2 separate regions of the Homo sapiens genome follow, and region 2 is linked to region 1. Evidence: promoter capture Hi-C in 16 types of primary human blood cells and fetal thymus (Javierre and others, 2016). All regions are on one chromosome and are shown on one strand. Each heading gives the region's core, a stretch centred on a gene start or on the middle of the fragment in contact. The rest is flanking DNA. Distances are from core to core; before and after follow the strand shown.

Region 1 (4,318 bases), core at 967-3,466:
CACAGAGACTCCCAGAAACCCATGGCTGTTGGTCCTGCTTCAGCTGCACAAATGAGACCTGGAGAGGGCAGCTCCCAGTTTCCTGGAAGGCTCATCTTAGGAAAAATTTCCTCCCCAGCAAGCAAAGCAGTAGGTCAATGAACTTCCATGCCAAAAATAAAAAATAAAATAAGACATAAAACTAAAAAAAAAAAAAAAGAAGACAGCTGGCTTGATTCCAAAGCCCCAAAGAGTTGCCAAAACAAACTTTTACCACACAGCTGCCTGGACCTGGTGGTCGGGAGGAGCACCTCAGTGGTAAGGCTTGGGAAGCCCAGGTGAGAACTCAGCAGAGCAATGAAGCCCTTGAATCAGATGTCCTGTCTTCTTTATCATGCGCCAGCTGGGTGACTTTGAACAAATTACTTAACCTCAGTTTCTCTTCTGTAAAATGGGTATAATTGCACTCTCCTACGCAAGTCATTATGAGAATCAGATTGTGCCACATAAAGTCCTGAGAATATTCAAGGACTTTGTCGCATAAAATCCTTAAAATACTCGAAACAGTCGATATGTGATCGCTGCTATCATAATTAACTATCAGAAAGCCACCTTCTTGTTCAGGCATGAATTATAGTATTCTGCCTTTCACAAACATTTCAAGCCTTTCTACCTGGGTGGAGAAACGAATGAAGAACAAATAAAAGGTGTTCTCAGGAGGTAGAAGCTTTATTATGACATCTTCAAAAGACAATCAAATCAATAGACATTTGCTGAGCACCTGCTGTGTGCAAGCCCGTGTAGACAGTAGGGTCCAGTGTCCCACGCATGGCTCTCGAATCCCCGGGGAGAAAAATCACATCGGGGTCAGGGAGTTTTGCGTGGCTGAGAACAAAGTGGGTTTCTGAACATCAAAGTGCAATTCGCTTTACGGGGCAAACTCCGAGGCCCAGCCCCGCGTGGGAGCCGCAGCGGGGCGGGCCCGCTCTGGGCTGGGCGGGTTTCTCTAGCGCAGCGCTGGGGGTTGCGGGCCTCTCAGCAGCCGGAGCAGCATCCTGAGCTCCGGTTGTTGGAGCGCTGGGACCTCTGGCTGCCGCCCCCGCAGCAGCAGCAACCACTACTCCGCTGTCGGCGGCGTCTCCTTGGGAAGCAGCAGCAACTGGTGGAGCTGGAGCCGCAGCAGCCTGAGTCGCCGCAGCAGCCCCTGCCGGAGCCGCAGCAGGAGGAGGAGGAGGCGGGCGCCGGGGTGGGCGCCGGGGCGGGACACGGAGCGGGGCCCTGGGACGACCCCTTGGAAAAGCCTTTGGCGGAAACGGCGCTCTGTTGAGAGGACATCGCGGAGCTCCTCACGACAAACCTGGAAGAAAGGCAGCCTTTCAAAGGCGAGCCGGCTTTTTCTTTCCACCAATGGAACTCTGTCTGGGCTTTTGAGATTCGGCTTAGTGTACAAGTCAGCCTGGCCTGGGACAAGGAGGGAAAAGCACCCAGAAAGAGCGGACGCAAAGAAGCAAATCCAAGCAGGTGTTTCCAGTGAGTTAAACATGCTCAGAGCAGGACACAATCCATGCAATGAATCAATGCATTTCCATTTTCTCTGACTAGAAGAAGACTGCTCAAGTTCTCCACAGTGGAAAATAAACAGCACACTGCGGCAACTTATCTGTATGATCCAGTCCAAAATCTCCACTTGGCTTTTTTCTTGTCCCTCATTTTACTTTCCTACCGACCTTCGACTGTATCTTCCTAGTTACTACACCCCCATCAGTTAGAAAACACCCAAGTCCAACAGGCGGTCCCACCTGCTGGGTCTAAATAATCCACAGGCCAGAAGCATGTCCTGATCATTCTTTCTTGCCTACGCCTCTCATGCCCCACAACCATGTGGGAAAGGAGAGTTGTGCCAATATAAATAACCCCATCCAGGGAGCTGAAAGACCTGGGTTCTAGTCACAGCTCTTCTGCGGACTTGCTGTGTACCCTTGCAAAAACCACCTCCTATGTTGCCTTTATGTCCTCATTAGTACCTTAAGAGGTTGGCTCACTAGAAGCGTAGGTGCCTTGCGGGACACCCCTTCCACATCTATCTGCTGCCTGTGTTCTGTTTGCTCCTCCCCTGTGCCCTCAACTCATCCCACCCTCTCCCCCAGACCCTGCTAGGAGACTTACCAGACCCTGGCTCCACTGAAAGACTCACTACGTTCTCCAACTGGAATGGGCCACCTGCTAGGCAGTGGATTGAGCAGCGTCCAGCCAGAGAACCTTTTTATAAGAAGTATTCAGGTTCAGGCTCTTGGGAGGGGCCCATTTCCCAACAGACGTGCTCAGCTGACACTCACATCCCAGAGACATTCATCACTCAGGTAGCATTGTAGGTGGTGCATGTGGGCATCTAAGTCACTTCACAGAGGTGCCAGGATTGCTATGGCATGTTTACTTTCCAAACAGGGCACTGTTTGTACCTGGGAGGCTGTGTGTATGCTAAGAGAGGGCATGGGGCTCAAATGCAGGGAGGTCTGGAACCCCTGCCCTTGTCTTCAATACACACACACACACACACACACACACACACACACACACACACAGACGGCTCCACTTGCCCACACATCCATTCCTATGTAGTCATCTACTTGGTAGGTGGTAGTTCACCTATTTTTATCTTGATTCTCATCTCTCTGGCTCTTGGTCCTTGGCTCCCCAGGGCAGACCACAAGCTATGCGATAAGCCTGCTGGGTTTCATCCATATGCTTCAAGATGCAGTGAGTGAAGATGATGACGGGGATGCACCTTTGGGAACCCCAGGGGTGATTTCTCTCTGTCACTGGAGACAGGAAGAAAAACCTAGGCAAAGTTAAGGAACCATAAGACCAGAAAAGTTGTGAATGTAGTCAGGTTGCCATATCCCCATAATACAGCATGGTATGACAAAGAGAAAAATGTGTGCAGGACAGTGGCCCAATTGCAAAAAGGCTAGTCAGCCTGTGGGACTCCTGCTTCTTATCCCACCCCCAACCACCAATCTGCCTTTGAAGATAAGTTCTCCCTAGGGCCACTGCCCAGTGCAAAAGAAAATGGGAAAGGAAGAAGGGAGGGAGGGAAAGAAGAAAAAAAAGAGAAAGAAAGAAAGAAAGTTCTTTCCAAAGGTCCAAAGTGTTCATGATAGATAGTGTTTTCAGAATAACTAATTTTTAAGAATTGGAGGATACTTTGGCAGTCAACTTCAGAACTGCTTCTTAATCAAATTGCCCACAACTGTGAATGTGAACTATAACAGAAGTCCAAGACTAAGAATTCAGGAATTAAGGATGAGAGACAGGTTTGGGGGCGAGTGAGCTGGGAGTGGCTCAAGGGACTAGGCGAGGAAAGATAAGTCACAAAAGATACCAGTTTCATTTAACATGGATTTAGAGCCTGATTAACAGGTTGCCAGTTCCTAGAGCACCTGTTGGTGAGTATAGGTGAGACATTCCAAAAAGTAAAGTCAATATTAGAACAGAGAAGGAAGTAATGAAATAACAAGACAGAGGCAGGATCTCCTCTGGGAAAATGGGCAAAGTTCTTTTAAAAAAAAAAAAAAAGAATGAAGAACGTTTGGTAGGAATCAGTATAAGGAGATAATCTGGGCAAGTGCCTACTCATTCTGTGGGCATCCTATGATCTCATAAACCAGCTTACTTTATTTATCGCTATTAACTCTTATCAAAGGAGGCATCAATTGTTTATCTTTTATATTAAAGGCTGATTTGGAATTAACTTTTCTAGTTATCTTTTCTAGGTACATTATGAGTGTCTCCTGAAGGAACCAGCCCATTCCTAAAGAAATGTTGCTTGGAAAACCCAACACAGGGACCAAAACCCCTGTACTCTTATACCTCTCACTGCACACACACACACACACACACACACACACACACACACGTACGTCCCAACCACATAGAGACAGTCTTTGCAAAGAAGGGTGTCTTTCTCAGTTCTTTACCCAGATTCAAATCCAGGATTTCAGCATGCAGGGAAAATGTGCTCAGACGTTTCATATCTGCCTCCAAAACTCACTCACTGCCCACCCAGCTCTCCCTCTAGCCAACTGATGGAAACACCTGAGCTTATAATAATCAGAAAAGTAAAGAGTGTCCATTTATTAGAGCCCAGGATGAGCACTTCAGGCAATCTTATTCCCCATGAATGGGGACAAGCAATTTTTCAAACTGTGACCCATGCTTGAAGGAAACCCTCTCAGAACCTGAACCTTTTGAGTACAACCATCCTCTTCTCTTCAAACCCATTCCTGGCTCTCCTCATACAATCTTGTGTCTGGCGTAATGGTCTCAGACATTATTCTTT
Region 2 (4,320 bases), core at 878-3,377, 720 kb before region 1:
CTGTACAAGGCTCCCCTGATCATGAGCTGAGGGTTTCTCTCAGGATTCCTTTGTTTTGAATTAGCTGCAAATGGTTTCCCATTACAATCTCTATTGCCACTCTTTCCAGGACAATGTACAGGTTTGCTCCATGGAATTATTGAGTCAATTGAATTTTGGAGGAAATTACCCAAGGTAGCCATTTTCATGAATTATCAATTATTGTTGACCCATACTCTCTGACTAATTAGGTTCTAGGACCTAGTCCCTTGAGACTTTGAATCATGATATAGAGCTACATCATCTGTCTTTCAACTACGCATGGCAGGAAGGCACAAATCCATTTAATCTAACAGTGTTATTATATTATTAGTATAATTATCAAGGAAATTCTAAGACATTTACTAACACTTAAATGCTTAAAATGTTGCAGTTGTACTGAGATTTGAATGTTGCCACTCATTAAGGATTGAGCTTACTTAGTGCTTGAGCCCATGGCTGATTTTGACCTGTAGAGATTGAATTATATTTTGTTTTTGAGTCCATGCTTAAGCTTGGAGCTACTATATTAATTTTTTTAGTATTCAGAACTCTGTGCTTTGTGGGCACATACTTCAGTACTTTCATTTTATAAGTCAGGAAACAGAGAGTACAAAGGTCATATATGTCATGAATTAGAGTCCAAGTTGATGGTGGGGGTTCCAAGTCCAGTTTCTTTTAAGTGTTAACAGCTCAACTATGTCTTCAGTGAATTTGATTCCTCGCTCACCTTGGCAATCCCTCTCCTGGCCCCTTTTAAGCTGGACATTTCTCCAACATTGTATTTCTTTCAGCATGTTGCTTTTTTTTTCTTCCTCTTTCTGCCTCTGCCTCTGCCAGTTGACTTTGAGGCCCTTGAGGGGAGTGGCTTTGTCTATTATTTTCTGCATATCTAGTAGCTGGCTCCATAGCAGGCATAGAAGGCTCCCATTAAATGCTTATCAAATGAATGAATAGATGAATGGACACAGCATGCCAGTTTGATGAACGATCCTCACATTTGTATTTGACTGCCAACATTCTTTGTGCCAGGGATTTGCCACTAGCCTGTAGTATGGAGCTGGAGACTGGGCTTTCCTTTCTTGGGACCTTGAACTTGGGTGCTCTGAGTGGGTTCCCCTCTTGTGTCACATATGTATGACATACTTCAGGGTCCCTGTTGAGACCTGCTTAGAACCACTGGATGTCATAGGTGGAAGAAGCCATAAAGAGCATCTAGTGCAATCCCATTCTTTCACAGATAAGGGGGCTGAAAAGACCTCATATCCCCAGCTCTTGTACCTAGCCAAGAGCTGCGATCCAGAGGGCAGTCAGATGGACTGATGGTTTGATTTCATGTGAGCTGAAACAGAGTGACTCTTTAATGCTCTTTGAGGCCGTGGGTGGAAGTGCTGCTTTGCTTTGCAACATCTAGGGCTATGGGCACTGAGGTAGATTTGTCACCTGGAGATTCTAGTAGAAGTAATGACAATTACCAACTGGTACTTCTTGCTGCCTCACGTCCTGCCCCTCCTCATGGCCTGTCACAAACACCTTGCACAACTGTCCTTGTCCTCCAAATGCACATGGGGCAACTCTTTCCATGAGTCAGCTCCACTAAGCTGTGTCATTACTCAGGCTGTGTGGCCTCAGGAATGTCACCTGGGGTCTGCAGGATTGGAGTGGGGCAGGGAGCTGGAGCATGGTTCCCTGGTGAGGCTTTGCCTGGGCCGTGTGAACAGGGACAGGCCACATTCTGAGGAGCCTGGCTCTACGCCAGTTCTTGACCCCTGCTCTGCCTCTGAATCTAAAATTCTCATATTTGAAACTGGGTCAAGGTAAACGTGGGTGATGTGTTGGTGGTAGATATGATGATATAAAGACTGGAGTGTCAGAGTCGATGTTTTAACTCCAGCCTGGGTTAGACTTCAGGTGAGTACTCAACATATGACTGGAGAAACACACTTGTCATATTTTGATCAGGGCTCTTTAAAGGTGAGTAAGTTGGATGTGATTTTCATTTTGTATTTTGTACTATATCTTTAAAAAATCCAAGTCCGGAGAGGGTGAGGACAGAGATGCGTACGATGGAGACCCTCACACTTTGTGGGGACATTAGCACTGGGGATCTTCTGAGGCCAGGGACCTTTTCTTTCTCCTCAAACTGGGGATAACCTTAAGGCCAGGACTGTGTCTCTCCACTGCATTCCCTCTGCAGGCTCCAGAGGGTGGGGCTGTCTTCTTCCTCATCCCGGGGTCTCCCTGAGGTTTGCTATGTCCTGTCTTCACACTGGGGCTTCCCTGGCAGCAAGGGCTTCCTCCAACACCGGATGAAGTCTAGGAACACTTAGGCCTCAAATTGAGGAACCTGTGATGGACAAAAATAGTAGCATGCATTACAAAAGGGCAGAATTGTCATTTTCCTTCTGCCTCTGTGGCCAGCATGGCAGGCATTTGGCAAAGGGCAAGGGGAGGCATGGTTCCAGCATCTGGAATCATCACACTGACTTTGTGTATGTATGTGTGTGCGTGTGTGTGTGTGGTATATGGTGTGAGAGAGTGCAGTGTGTGAACCTCATGCAGGTGAGTCTCTGGGGGGTGACGGGGAAGAGGTGCTCCCTCTTCTAGGAGGACATGGTAGGGGCAGAGAAGCAGGCATGGGCTGAGTAAACCCATGCAAAGTCTGATTAGGGCTTAAAGTGTGTTTGCCATCTGGGCCTGACTCAGCCTCTGGTGTCAAAGGTTCAGGCGAGGTTGCTTTGTGAACAGGGTGGAGTAGTCCGGGTCCACTTGTGGAAACTCTATAAATGGAAGCCTGGGCTTCGGTGTTGGCTTCCCTCCTGGTTTGGGGAAGTGCTGCTCAGTCCTGCCTCCTCCCACTCACCTTCCCACACCTGGACACCTGCAGCCAGGCATCTTTCATGAAGGCCTCTTCTGTCCTAGAGTAGGTCTGAGCTGGGATTTTCTTTGAGCAGCAAACCAATCCAGCTGCATCCAGGAACCCCACAGACTGCCCTGCTTGGTACCTCCCTTTGCTCCTCAGTCCACTCTGTTCTGTTCTGGCCTCTGTGTCCCCACTCAGGCTGTCCTCATCAAGGTCACCAGCCACTCTGCATTTCTTGACCAGTTAGTATTGGTTGACTCCATTGATTTTCCTTCCTTTCTTGGACACCTGTCTTCTCTTGTCTTTCCAGTCTCCACCCTCCTAGTTTCTCTTCCTTCACTGACCGCTCTTTGTCAGCTGGCTGTACAGGCTCCTTCTGCGCTGTCCAACCTTGAGATCTTGTGGAGTCCTCAGCTCGGTAGGGCCCTCTCTTCTTCTCCTTGGGTGATCTCAGCCACTCACATATCTTTAAATACCTTCTATGTGATGACAGCTCTCAAATATGTACATTTTTGGCCCAGATATCTCTGAGCTTCAGACATGTACCCACATATCTCCTAGTCCTCACCTCTCTGCATCCACCTAGTGGCCTAAGCCATAAACTTGGGAGTATTTCTGCCTTCTTTCTCCTCCTTTACCCCACACATTGAGTCCCCCTGCTACTCCTGTTAGTTATTCCTCCAAAACACTTAGCGTCACCCTCTTGTCTTTGTCTCCACTGCTGCCATCTACCACCTTTAGCCATAACTCTAGTAGCAGGTCCTTCCTCTCCCTATTTCATGCTTCCTCCAACATCCAGCCTTTATACATTTTGCAGATGGAATAATCTTTTGAAGCTTTGAATCAAATAAAAAGCCTCTACTGAGACCCCTTCGGGGTCTTCCCGATGCATTTTGAAAAACATCTGAACAGTATATACATGTTGTCTGAGGTTTGATGGGATACATGCTCAGGCAGGTGTGTGTTTATGCCTGTGAACAAACCTAAACAGATGCAGGTGCATATTCACCCTGGCCACAATGTGCCCACCCCAAGATAGCCCTATTGTTTAGGGTCTGGGACCCATCAGTGTCTGGCATCATGCTTGGCATTAGGTGCTCAGCAGGAGCTCAGTGAATGGATAAATGAGCTTTTGGTGTCCTCTAAGTGTAAACTCCACAAAAACAGCACTTTTGGTCTGTTTACTGCTACATCTCCAGCACCTAAAGGAAAGCTTGGCATACAGTAGCTACTCAACAAAGATTTGTTGAATGAAAAAATAAATGAATGAGAACACAATGAGTAATCTACAGATAGGCTTTGTCATTCTGGCTATTTAGGAATCAAAGGTAATGTGTTCAGTGACACTTTTGTCAGTCAATTCACATTCAAGAAAATGTTCCCTCAGATTTCCTCTCACCTCCAGCACGCTGCCATTGCCACCATCATGTAACCCATCA

The links. Contacts are between HindIII fragments. The CHiCAGO score rates a contact against its expected background, and 5 or more counts as called.
Region 2: a contact is called between a fragment that was not itself captured here and the fragment with the promoter of CRCT1 in region 1, in 1 of 17 cell types (M0 macrophages). The highest score is 6.0, in M0 macrophages.

The regions. Positions count from the first base shown.
Region 1 is chr1:152,512,380-152,516,697 of GRCh38, reverse strand. CRCT1 (cysteine rich C-terminal 1) reads right to left here and starts at 2,216. Exons shown (of 2, transcript NM_019060.3): 1 at 2,146-2,216; 2 at 690-1,336. The coding sequence starts at 1,314. The coding sequence ends at 1,015. The HindIII fragment of the contact is 3,620 bases long and covers 709-4,318 here.
Region 2 is chr1:153,229,991-153,234,310 of GRCh38, reverse strand. No RefSeq gene overlaps it. Among named protein-coding and RNA genes, the nearest start is that of PRR9, 15 kb to the right of the region's middle. The HindIII fragment of the contact is 3,185 bases long and covers 535-3,719 here.